3 separate regions of the Homo sapiens genome follow, and regions 1 and 3 are each linked to region 2. Evidence: promoter capture Hi-C in human tissues and cell types (Jung and others, 2019). All regions are on one chromosome and are shown on one strand. The core of a region is centred on a gene start or on the middle of the fragment in contact, and the rest is flanking DNA. Distances in the headings are between cores, read along the strand shown. Region 1 overlaps SEC14L6 (SEC14 like lipid binding 6). Region 2 holds the start of GAL3ST1 (galactose-3-O-sulfotransferase 1). Region 3 has its middle 9.4 kb from the start of SEC14L4.

Region 1 (3,753 bases), core at 1,173-3,672, 40 kb before region 2:
AATGACAGGGGGTGAGACCCTGTGAGGGCCACTGCCCCCACCCATCCAAGATGGGGCTGGGCCTAAGCCCAGGGCACTGGCCTGGCTTGTCTCAGCTCTGCATGGCACAGAGATGGGGGAGGGAAGGGGCCATCCCACAGGATGCCAGGACCGGAGTGACCCAAGGACCGACCTCTTTGTGTCTGTCCATGGGAGGCCAAATCGCTGTGTTGCAGTTCCCTCTTCGGTCCAGTGGGGCTGAAATCCCTGTCCCTCTCGTCCAATGAGGCTGCAGAGGGCAGTGTGGCCCAGTGGATTGAGTGGGCTTTGGGGCCAATTGGGGGAGAAATGATTCCCAGTTCAGCCACATACTGTGTGGCCTTGGGTGGGTCCTTGGCCTCTCTGAACCTGCATTCACTCCACAGTACCAGGAGGAGCCGAGGAGCCCAGGAGCCCAGGAAGGCAGATTCTGGGTGTGAGGCTCAGGGGGTGAGGGTGCTGTGTCCGGCTGCAGCTGCCCAGGGTGGCACCCACACACCTTCTGACTCTGCAGCTCACACTCCCGCAGGAGCAGCTCGCAGCTCCGGAAGCTGTCCCTGAGCAACTCCTGTTTGGAGGCTGAGAGCAAGAGGCCTTTGGGGTCCAGGCTTCCCACAATGTGGTACCAGACAGGGCTGCCCTCACCGTCGTGGCCGCATATGCCGTTAGCGTTGTACAGCCTGACCACCTGGATGCATACACAGGAGACGGGGGTTCAGTGCCGAGGGCTGAGGGCCCAGGGATCAGGGTATGGGTTTGAGAGATGCTCACCTCTGGGGGCTGCCAGGCAAGGATGTTGGCCAGGTCTTGTTGCTTCCGGAACTCCATATGCTGCAGAGACACGGCAGGAGGTGGTGAAGATTCTGCCTGTCCCAAAGACCTCTGTGGATACCTGGGGACACCAGGCCAGGTCCCTCTGCCTGCAACCACTAAGGGCCTGCCAGAGCATCCCCAGGCTCCACTGACATAGAACTGGGGGATGGAAACAGGATGGGGATGGAAGGGGACATGCATCTGAGAGGCCAGGAGAGACCTAGAAAGGGACAGGGGAGGCCTGCACTCTGCAGCTGTCTCCCCCTGCATCCTTCCAGATGTTTCCCATGCCCCCTCCCGCATGGCTGCCCTGGGAGTCAGACTCTACTTCCTGACTTCCAGTTGCCCTTAAGCAAAAACCTATACCCCCCTACAAGGCCTGCAGAGCCTGGCTGATGTGTTGGGGCCACCCTGTAACCTCATCACTTCCCCTTCTCTCTCCAACACGATCTCCGTGTGCTCCTAGAATATACCAGCTCAGGCCAGGCACAATGTCTCACGCCTGTAATCCCAGCATTTTGGGAGGCCAAGGTGGGTGGATCACCCGAGGTCAGGAGTTCAAGACCAGCCTGGCCAACATGGTGAAACCCTGTCTCTACTAAAAATACAAAAATTAGCTGGGTGTGGTAGTGCATGCCTGTAATCCCAGCTACTTGGGAGGCTGAGGCAGGAGAATTGCTTAAACCTGGGAGGCGGAGGTTGCAGTGAGCTAAGATCACGTCATTATACTCCAGCCTGGGTGACAGAGCAAGACTGTCTCAAAAAAAAAAAAAAAGAATACACCAGCTCATTCCCACCTCAGGGCCTTTGCATGAGCTGTGCTCTTCACCCTGATCTTCACATGCTTGCTTCCTTTTGGGCATTCATGTCCCTGCTGAAATGTCCCTGACCTCTCTTCCCTCCTTCCCTGTTTTGCTGTCTTCATTGTACTTTCCATTCTCAGGAATTGTCTTCTTTGTTCCTCTGGTTTCTTTTTCTCTCTTCCCATCACGGCAGTCTCCCCAGCGCCTAGCACCAGGCCAGGTTTACCTTCCAGTCTCAATGAATGGGTGTTCCATGAATGAATGAATGGATGGATGAATGAATGAATAAATTTGTGCCTCAGACTTGGGATAGGAAACAGGACCAGGCTAGGCAGGGGGAGGTGTCAACCTCACCTTCCTCAGCATGTCCTCTGATTTCTGCAGGTCAAAGCTCCGAGCTGCAACAAGAGACAGGGTTATGGTTGTGGAATTCTAGAGGCTCACTCCAGGCTTCTGGAGAGACAACGGCCCTGCCCCACCCTCCAGGCCAGCTTTGTCTCCTGTTACCCAGAGGGCCTTGTTCTTGACCTGGGGAGCCACAATGGCTGAGATATCCGGAGACCCAGGAACACTGGACACAGGCTCCTTGATTCCCTGGGCATGCCCCTTGGTGGGCCTTGGGGCCCTTTTCCTGTTGTTCCAGAAAAGTCATTGAGACAGCAGACCCTCAGAATCTGTCAGAATCATAAGGCTGAGAATTGTTTAAATCAGCAGATCACAAACATTTTGGCCTCAGGAGCCCTTAATACTCTTTAATTTTTACTTAAAAAAAATTTTTTTTTTTTTTTGAGAAGGAGTCTCCCTCTGTCACCCAGGCTGGAGTGCAGTGGCATGATCTTGGCTCACTGCAACCTCTGCCTCCCGGGTTCAAGTGATTCTCCTGCCTCAGTCTCCTGAGTAGCTGAGATTACAGGCACCCACCACCACGCCTGGCTAATTTTTGTATTTTAGTAGAGATGGGGTTTCACCATGTTGGTCAGGCTGGTCTCGAACTCCTTACCTCAAATGATCCGCCTGCCTCACCCCCCAGAATGCTGGGATTAAAGGTGTGAGCCACTGTGCCCAGCCCCCTTAATACTCTTTAAAAAAATCACCAAACTCATCTGGGAACTATGGCTCATGCCTATAATCCCAGCATTTTTGGAGGCCAAGGTGGGCAGATCACCTGAGGTCAGGAGTTCGAGACCAGCCTGGACAACATAGTGAAATCTCGTCTGTACTAAAAGTACAAAAATTAGCTGGGCATGGTGGTGGGCACCTGTAATCCCAGCTACTTGGGAGGCTGAGGCAGGAGAATCACTTGAACCCAGGAGGTGGAGGTTGCAGTGACATTGCTTGAGCCTAGGGGTTCGAGACCAGCCTAGGCAACATAGTGAGACTCTGTCCCTATAAAAAGAAAAAAAAAAGAAAAGAAAAATTATATATAAGTTTGCCTAATGGCCATGGTGAGATTATGGGTGATTTATAGAAATATCATTTTGTTTTTCTTTTTCTATACCTTCCAGATTTTCCATGATAAATGGGCTCTGATTTCATAATCAGAAAAACACCCAGTGGATGTTATAAACAAATGGGAGTGAGGTCCTAGCGGCCCCAGCAGGCTGTCAAAGCAGTCCTCTGCCCTGAGCCCAGCCTTAGCTGGGCTGTCACCCAGCTTTCTAAGAGTCAGCCTGGTCCATTGGCTCACTGGCTTTGCAGCAGCACTTCTGCTGAGAGCCTCTGGCTGGTGAGAACCAAGTGGTTTCACTTGGTCCCCAGGGCCTTGGGGAGTAGTTCTCACATTGATTTCATCTGGGCATCATAACAACCATGAAAGCTGCCAGTGGCGGGGAGAGAGTCTTGTTCCCTATAAACAGATGAGGAAACTGAGGGCCCAACAGAAGGGGGCCATAGGCCCCAGGTCTCATGCTGCTAGTAAGAGGCAGAGCGGGGACTAGACGCCTGTCTTTGGAACTCCAATCGGGACTCTTTTTTGATTTGGTGGCAGTTTAAAGACATTCTAGTTAGAAGAAATGGTACTGAGCAAAGATGAGCTAGGAAACCCTGTTGGCTACTATGTCATAGCTTTTGTTTGTTTATTTGTTTTTGAGACAAGGTTTTGCTCTGTCACCCAGGCTGG
Region 2 (3,922 bases), core at 784-3,283:
GGAGGGAAGGCAGGCATCTTCTGGGCCCCCACTTCCTCCCACCATCACCCCTCACCTGGAGATTCCAGCAGTCCCCAGCCTGATGACCCCCATGGGCACCTGTGTTCCATCCTGCTCTGCCCTGTTTGGAGTCGTGTGGAGCCCCTAAAAGGGCTCATCCATATTCCTCACCCAGTCAAAGTGAAGCAAGGAGCCCTTCAGGAGCCTGCAGCCGGGCCCAGAATTCCATTTGTGCATCATTCTCTCAGGTTAATCATTGCCTCTTTCACTGGATGGCACACCCAGTCCCTCAGAACACAGTGGGAGGGGCTGTGGGGGACACACTCCTCCCTTGCTGGGCGACAAGAGGGCATCGGACCCATTAAGGGAAGGGGATGCATGGGGACCAGGCATTCTCTGTCCGCAAGGAGCTTCCTCCAGGAAGGGCTCTGCCTGAGCAAGCAGGGAATAAAGCAGGCTGAGGTGGCAGCTGGGAACAGGGCTTCGTTGTCTCGGCTCCCGGGGTAGCAGCCTGCTCACCCGCTGAAGTGTCAGGCGGAGCTGGGAGCCAGGGAGGCGAGGGGGGGTGTCCAGAGCTGAGGGTTTGGGGCAGCCCAGGCAGATCCAAGAAGGCAGGACCCCAAAGGAGCAGAGAGAGGTCATGGGTTGGGCTGGGGTCCTGAAATGGGGGCCAGGGCAAGACTCCTATGATTTGGAGTCAGCTCAGCTACCTCTGAGCCATGTGACCTTGGACAAGTCATTGAATTTCCCTGAGCCTCAGTATCCCCCTCTGGATAATGGGGATAGGTAGCAATGCCTCCTTCACAGGACAAGGAACAGTGCGTACACAGTGACTGCTCTGGTCCAGGACTGCCCTCCTGTGCCCCCTGTGTGGGCCTGGATGAGCCTCACCCTCTCTGGGCCTCAGGTCACCCCGTCAGTAAAGGAAGAGATTGGGTTTTCCCAACTGGAATGGACAGTCCTCTACACCTCTCTCCCCTCTGGAGGATTCTCATGCACCTGTCACCGCGGCAGCCCGGGGATCAGGTGTCAGGCATGCTGCCTTCTCTCCCTTTCCTTCCCCCTGGTGTGGGTTACAGCAGCCAGACATGCCCATCACCTCTCTGGCTCTGGGCAGCTGGGCGGGGCAGTTCCCACTGGGCAGGGCTCGGTCTGTAGTGTGCTCTGTGCTGGTACCAAAATGCTGGCCTGGCACCGAAGGGGCAGATCAAGCTGGACCCCCTTCCTGGGCACTGGGCTAGGAAACAGGAACTGTAGGATTTCCTATAGGACCCCTCCTGGATGCCAGGGTTTGTCCCACTCTCCCAAACCTCTCCTTGGTGGCTTTGCTTCCTCTGGGGTACAGGCCAGGGCCTTCCCCCAGCAGAGGGGATCCATCCCTTACTATGGTCTCCGGTTCCTGCTCTGATCCCCTTTCTAGGAAGGGCTGATGGAGACAGGGGAGATCTCTGCCCCTCCTCCCCTAGGGCTCTGGCCACTGTGTCCAAGATTAATCATTAACGCACTCCCAGCTCCAGCTCAGCCCCAGCAGCCTGCCTTCTGCCCCACCCATCCCACCTTCAGGGACTGGGAAGCCCTGGAAGGGGGGTTGGGGGACAGGGGAAAAAACCAAGGGCATGGGGGGCACCAACCTGTGCCCTCCCTGGCCCCTACCAGGCCACCCTCTGGCAGTGGGCAGGGGTACCCAGCGCTTAGAACAGCGGTACTGCACTCCTACTCCCCTCCTCCGGCGCGTGGTCCCAGTTTGGGGGTTAGCGTAATGTGGGCGGTATCCCCAGGGAGTAGACTGAGGCAGGGCTCAAGCTGGCAGTGGGTGCTGGAGCCCGGGACGTACCTTGTCCCCGTCCTCCTCCGCCTCAGCGTGGCTGGCTCGGCCCGGGCCGCGCCGCCCGGGCGCTCACTGGGCGGCGGGGCGCACCCGGCCGGGCCCCCCGCTCCACCAGGCCTGGTCCATGCCCCCGCCCCCGCCGCCGCTGCCGCGCCGCGCCCGCTCCCGCGCCGCGCCCGCTCCCGGCCAGGTGCCGCCGCCAGCCTGGCCCAGCCTCCGGCGCCGGGGCCAATGGACGCCCCGGACCCCAGACCCCTCCCCGCCCCGGGCCGGCCCCCTCCCCGCCCCATCCCGGCCCCTCTGCGCCCGCCCGAGACGCACAGAAGCCGCATTCAGCGCGCTGGGGCGCAACGCTGCGCCCCCGCCGCCGGCCCAACAAGGCCCGTTTGTCTCGGACGCGCCAACGGGGCCATTGTCCCGCCCCGGTCCTCTGGCTCAACGGAGCCCCCAGCCCAGAAGACTTGAGGATGCCCAGGCTTGGTGGTGGTGGGGAGGGGAGCCAGGGCTCTGGGAAAAAGGCGGCGGACGGACTATTGCTTAACTTTGGTTGGGGGGTCCTGGGGCCCTTAGGATCCAATGGATCATACGGCTTCTTGCTCTAGTCAGTGCCAACTGGGGACGACACATTTTTGGCACTCATGGGAGTGGAGGGAGCTCAAGCAAGAGACTGAGCTCCAACTGGTCCTGTCACCTGGAGGTCTCAGCTGTCACTCTCTAGGGTGCCAATGAGGGCTGAGCAAGGCCACCAGGAGGCAGGTGTCCCATCCAGGCCCTGTCTCATTTTCCAGGCCTGGCCTTTCCTTCTTCACCCCAGAGGAGCAAGACCATGGATGAGGACCAATGCCTGCCAGGGGCCAGGAATCCTCAGCGCCAGCTGTGGGCAGTAAGGAACCAGCTGGCCACCCAGTGGGGCCTGGGATGCGTCAGAGCCCCACTGCCCCCGCCATTACTGGGCGATTCTGGAATGGGGAAAATTCCACATCAGCATGGCTGCCAGGAATTTTTCCGTATCTGATGGGCCTGCGCTCTAGCCGTGTGGCCCTGGATGCACAGTTCCCCAGACAGGCCTGAGTTGTCTCCCGGGGCTGCAGGCTCTGGCTCCAGAGGTCCTGACCCTCTGTCCCAGCCTCTGGAGGCAACCTCACTCCCTCCCATCGCCGTGTGCATGACAGAGTGGGAATGGCACACAGCCCTCTCCTTCCACCCACAGCCAGTCCCAGCTGAGAGGGGGAGCCCTAGGTTTTCTGCTCCCCAGGCCAGAGCCTGCCCAAGCTCTTGCCTTCCCCCTGCACAGGTTGGACCTACATCCACTGCCACAAAAACATTCTCTGCCCACACAGCCAGCAAACAGTGAGAGGCAGAGGGCAAGGCCCTCAGGTGCCTAGATTCAGGGAAAGTAGAGCCATTCCAAACCCACACTTCCTCAGCGTGGCCCCAACCCTCGACAGCACTCACCCCGGGAAGTGAGTCCTGGGAGGGGCTGAGTGAGCACTGGGAGACCCAGGTTGTGGTCCTGGCTCCATCATGATGCACTGGCGGTTCCAGGCAAAGGCATATCCCAATGGGCGTCAGCAGGGACACTGCCAAGGTCAGCGGGGAAGCTGTCAGGCAGGCCTCACAGACCGTAAGTGCAGCTGCTGCGGAATCCTACGCTGGGAGGTACTCAGCGGTTCTGCCAACGCGCCAAGGCAAGCTGAGGGCAGGACCTCACCGCAGACCCACAGATCCTTCCGGTTCTGGCTTTTACCTTCTGGGCCGAGTCCAGCAGGAAGTGATATAAATCAGTTGGTGTTTACCAAGTACTTACCACACACCTGATATTACCAAGTCCATAAGGTCTGAGACTATAAAGTTATCACAGAACCCTCAACACATCCCTTTCAAAGAACAGAATCTCTACCAGTAACTGACACATGAGGAAGCAGGTGCAGAGGGAAAATGCCTGGGTTAGAATGTGAACCATGGTCAGACAGGCTGTGAAGCCCAGGTCCAGAACCTCTGCACCTACCTTTTGGCATCCCTGGACCTGGAGGGGTCCTTGGACATCCAGAGAGCTCTGAGCAGTGCCCAGCTCTGTCTCAGTAAATACCCAGG
Region 3 (3,531 bases), core at 267-2,766, 60 kb before region 2:
TAGTCCCTGGTACTTTAGAACGTGACCTTACTTGGAAACAGGTCATTGCAGATGTAATTAGCGGTCGTATGGGAGTAGAGTGGGCCTCTAGTCCAGTATGTCCTTATAAATGGTGCCATTTGGATGCACATGGGGAGACACGCACATAGGGAGAACATCATGTGAAGATGAAAACAGATTGTGGAGTGATGCATCTATAATACAAGTCAAGGGGCGCCAAAGATTACTGGCCAACCATCAGAAGCTAGAGGAGAGGTGGTAAACGGAGTCTTCCTCACAATCCTTAGCAGGAACCAACCCTGCTGACACCTTGATCTTGGACTTCCAGCCTCCAGAATTCTGAGAATAAAATTCTGTTGTTCAGGCTGCTCAGTGTGGGGCACTGTGTTACATACAGCAGTCCTAGGGCACTAATAGGATGAGTGGTTGCCATATAGGATAGTGCAGCGTTAGTGCATTTAATCCTCCTCACTGTGCTGTGCAGTCGGGCTGGGAAACTGAAGCTCGAAGAGCCTCCTGAGTCTCATATCCAGCAAGCAGCAATGCCAGGACCGGAGCCCTGGCACTTGTCACTATGCCATGTCCTTCTGCGGGCTGAGCTCCCCTGGTTTTAGGTCACCCTCATGTCCCCCTCTATTCAATACAGGGCAGACATCCTCCCCTGAGCCTGCAGCACAAAGATGCTTCCTTCAAACCTCAGCTGTTGCCGGGCATGGAGAACTTTAGTTCTAACCATCTGGGCGCCAGTGCTTTGGGGGGCAGATAACGCCTCTCTTACGTGGTGTGCCCTTCTCTTTCAGCCTTCCGAAATGTGGCTCATGCCCACAGTCCCTCCTGACCCGTGAGCTGAGAAGCTGGACTGTGATGATGGTGCTCTCATGGTATGCAACCTGCATCCCACATCTTAATGCCCATGCACTGTGATGCCTCTCACTCCCACCTTCCAAGTGTTCCTAAAATTTCTGGCATTGTTCATTTGCCACAGGTCCCATGCTGACAGCCCTCATTAAAGCCGGTGGCCTGCCAACTGAAGAGAACTCCCTGGGGTGAATGACATGCATTGTGGGAAGTGAAATGGGCCTTTGCCCTACATCAAAGCTGTATCAGCCGCTCCCTGAGTCTGTCTTGACCAGACAGATCCCACTGGATGCTGCTCCAACTGTGTTGGACTTGGCTTGAGTGACTCTGGAGAGAGGGCTGGGAGGAAGCTGCCTGACACAGGTGCCCGGGGCAGGGCGGCAGCCTCTCACCTGGGCCTGACTGGGAGGTGGAAATGAGGCTCTGGGGCCTAATCAGAAGGAGTTTTCTTAGCTCCCCTCACCAACCCAGGGTGACCTCAGGGAAAGAAGAGGCCTGGTGTGGCCATGCCCTCCCTACTTCCCCAAGGAAGGGAGATGGCCGCTAGGGCCTGGAAGAGAGAGGGATGGGGAAGGGGAACCTAGCCAGCTGCCCTAAAGTCCTGGGACCAGGGGAAAAGGTGGATTAGGGTTCAGGGGCCCTAGGGCCACACTTGGACTTCTTTCTTTCCCTACAAAAGCAGGAGTAGGGGGGTGCAGTGGCTCATGCCTATAATCCCAGCACTTTAGGAGGCCAAAGCAGGAGGCTTGCTTAAGGCCAGAAGTTTGAGACTAGCCTGGGCAACATAGTGAGACTGCGTCTCCTCAAAAAGAAGAAAAAAAAAATTAGCCAATAGAGTAGAAAGCACCTATAGTCCCAACTACTTGGAGGTCTGAGGTGAGAGGCTCACTTGAGCCCAGGAGTTCGAGGCTGCAGCGAGCTATGATTGTGCCGCTGAACTCCAGCCTGGGCAACAGAACAAGACCCTGTCTCAAAAAAAAAAAGGCCAGATGCAGTGGCTCACTTCCGTAATCCCAGCACGTTGGAATGCTGAGGTAGGTGGATCACCTGAGGTCAGGATTTTGAGACCAGCCTGGCCAACATGGCGAAACCCCATCTCTATTAAAAATACAAAAAATTAGCCAGGCATGGTGGTGGGTGCCTGTAATCCCAGCTACTTGGGAGGCTGAGGCAGGAGAATCACTTGAACCCGGGAGGCGGAGGTTGCAGTGAGCTGAGACCGAGCCATTGCACTCCAGCCTGGGCAACAAGAACAAAACTCCATCTCAAAAAAGAAAAGAAAAAGCCAGGAGGTCCCTGGCCTTTCCCAAGCCACAGTACACCAGGTCAGGAGTATATGGGGCCATTTAATCTCTCCTTGCTGCTGCCTCCTACCACAAGGCCTTTGGACATGCTGTTCCCTCTGACTTGAACACTCCTCCCTCATCTCCCTGCACACCGCCTAGTTAGTGGCACCTCACATCCTCAGACCTCCTGGTTAAATGGTCAAACAGACCCTACTCCTCTTTTTCAGAGTATGATCTTCATTAGGCATTGTTTGTGGTGACTGTTTGACTCACCCCGTTAACTCTCACCACATTTGCCATGCTCATCGTGGTACCCATGATCCTACTTTACAGATGCAGAGACTGAGCTTCTGGGGCTGGTAACAGCCTGAGCCAGGATTTGAACCCTTATCCATTTGCATCCAAGGCCTCTTGTCCTTAATCACCACACTATCCTGGCTCCCTGAAGATAATGTGTTCCGGAAGAGGTCTAAGCAACAGCACTGCACTGGGGGCTCCTGGAATGTCTCCCAAAGGAGATGGCATTTAGGATGGGCCTCTAAGGTAGAAAGGGGAGGAGGACATTCTGGGTAGAGGTGACCACCCAAAGAAACTCACAGAGGTAAGAGAGAGGAGAAACGTCACGAAGGCAGCAAGCTTGAAAACATTGAGGGGAGGTCACCAAGGAACTTCAGGCCATGCTGCGGGCTTTGGGCCATCCCTTCTCAGTGGTGGGGAGCCATGGAAGGTTTCAAAGGAAGAGACCAATGTGATTCCACCTGTGCCTGGAAGATAACCATGGGCCCGATCTGAAGAATGACCTGGGAATAGCGGACATTCAGAGCAGGGAAACTGGTCTGAAGCCTGTTGCAAAGATTCATGGTGGGTGTGAGGAGGAGCAAGCAGTGGGCGGGGAGAGGTCAGCGCCTCACCTTTGCTCCACACCAGATCTCTATCAGCAAGCTCGCTCAGGGAGTATCAAGGGCTGGGTATTGTTTGGTACCTGGTCTGTGGACATTATGTTCTACCTGTAAATTACAAATACATTACAGCTGATTGTTTTGAGCACTTCAGATAACTTGGATGCAGGGCAGGCAAGTCCTAAAGTGGGGCTTAGCCTTTGAGGGTTCTTGACTTTGCACAGGAAAGAATTCAAGGGCAAGCTGGAGGTAGAAGAAAACAGCTTTATCGAAGAGGCAGTGTTGTAGGTCTGTGACTGCCCCTGCAGAGTGGGGCTACCCCATAGGCAGGGAGTAGCAGCCCAGGACAGTTTTGCAGTCACATTTATACCCACTTTTAATAACATGCGGACCAAGGGGTAGTTTATGCAGAAATTTCTAGGGAAGGGGTAGTAACTTTTGGGTCATGGGGTCATTGCCATGGAAAGGGGCGGTAACTCCCAAGTGTT

What was found. The method cuts DNA at HindIII sites, captures the fragments that hold promoters and counts their contacts. A contact is called where the count stands out against the background at its distance.
Region 1: a fragment that was not itself captured here is called in contact with the fragment with the promoter of GAL3ST1 in region 2 in 1 of the 25 tissues and cell types used here (IMR-90 fibroblasts).
Region 3: a contact is called between a fragment that was not itself captured here and the fragment with the promoter of GAL3ST1 in region 2, in 2 of the 25 tissues and cell types used here (bladder and lymphoblastoid cells).

What each region holds. Positions count from the first base shown.
Region 1 is chr22:30,532,008-30,535,760 of GRCh38, forward strand. It overlaps SEC14L6 (SEC14 like lipid binding 6), which reads right to left. Exons shown (of 12, transcript NM_001193336.4): 3 at 1,989-2,032; 4 at 790-849; 5 at 518-706. Among named protein-coding and RNA genes, the nearest start is that of SEC14L6, 13 kb to the right of the region's middle. The HindIII fragment of the contact is 8,979 bases long and covers 1-3,753 here.
Region 2 is chr22:30,572,632-30,576,553 of GRCh38, forward strand. It overlaps GAL3ST1 (galactose-3-O-sulfotransferase 1), which reads right to left and starts at 2,034. Exons shown (of 4, transcript NM_001318104.2): 1 at 1,835-2,034. RefSeq lists enhancers at 592-1,273, 1,274-1,954. The HindIII fragment of the contact is 15,540 bases long and covers 1-3,922 here.
Region 3 is chr22:30,513,355-30,516,885 of GRCh38, forward strand. No RefSeq gene overlaps it. Among named protein-coding and RNA genes, the nearest start is that of SEC14L4, 9.4 kb to the left of the region's middle. The HindIII fragment of the contact is 7,876 bases long and covers 1-3,531 here.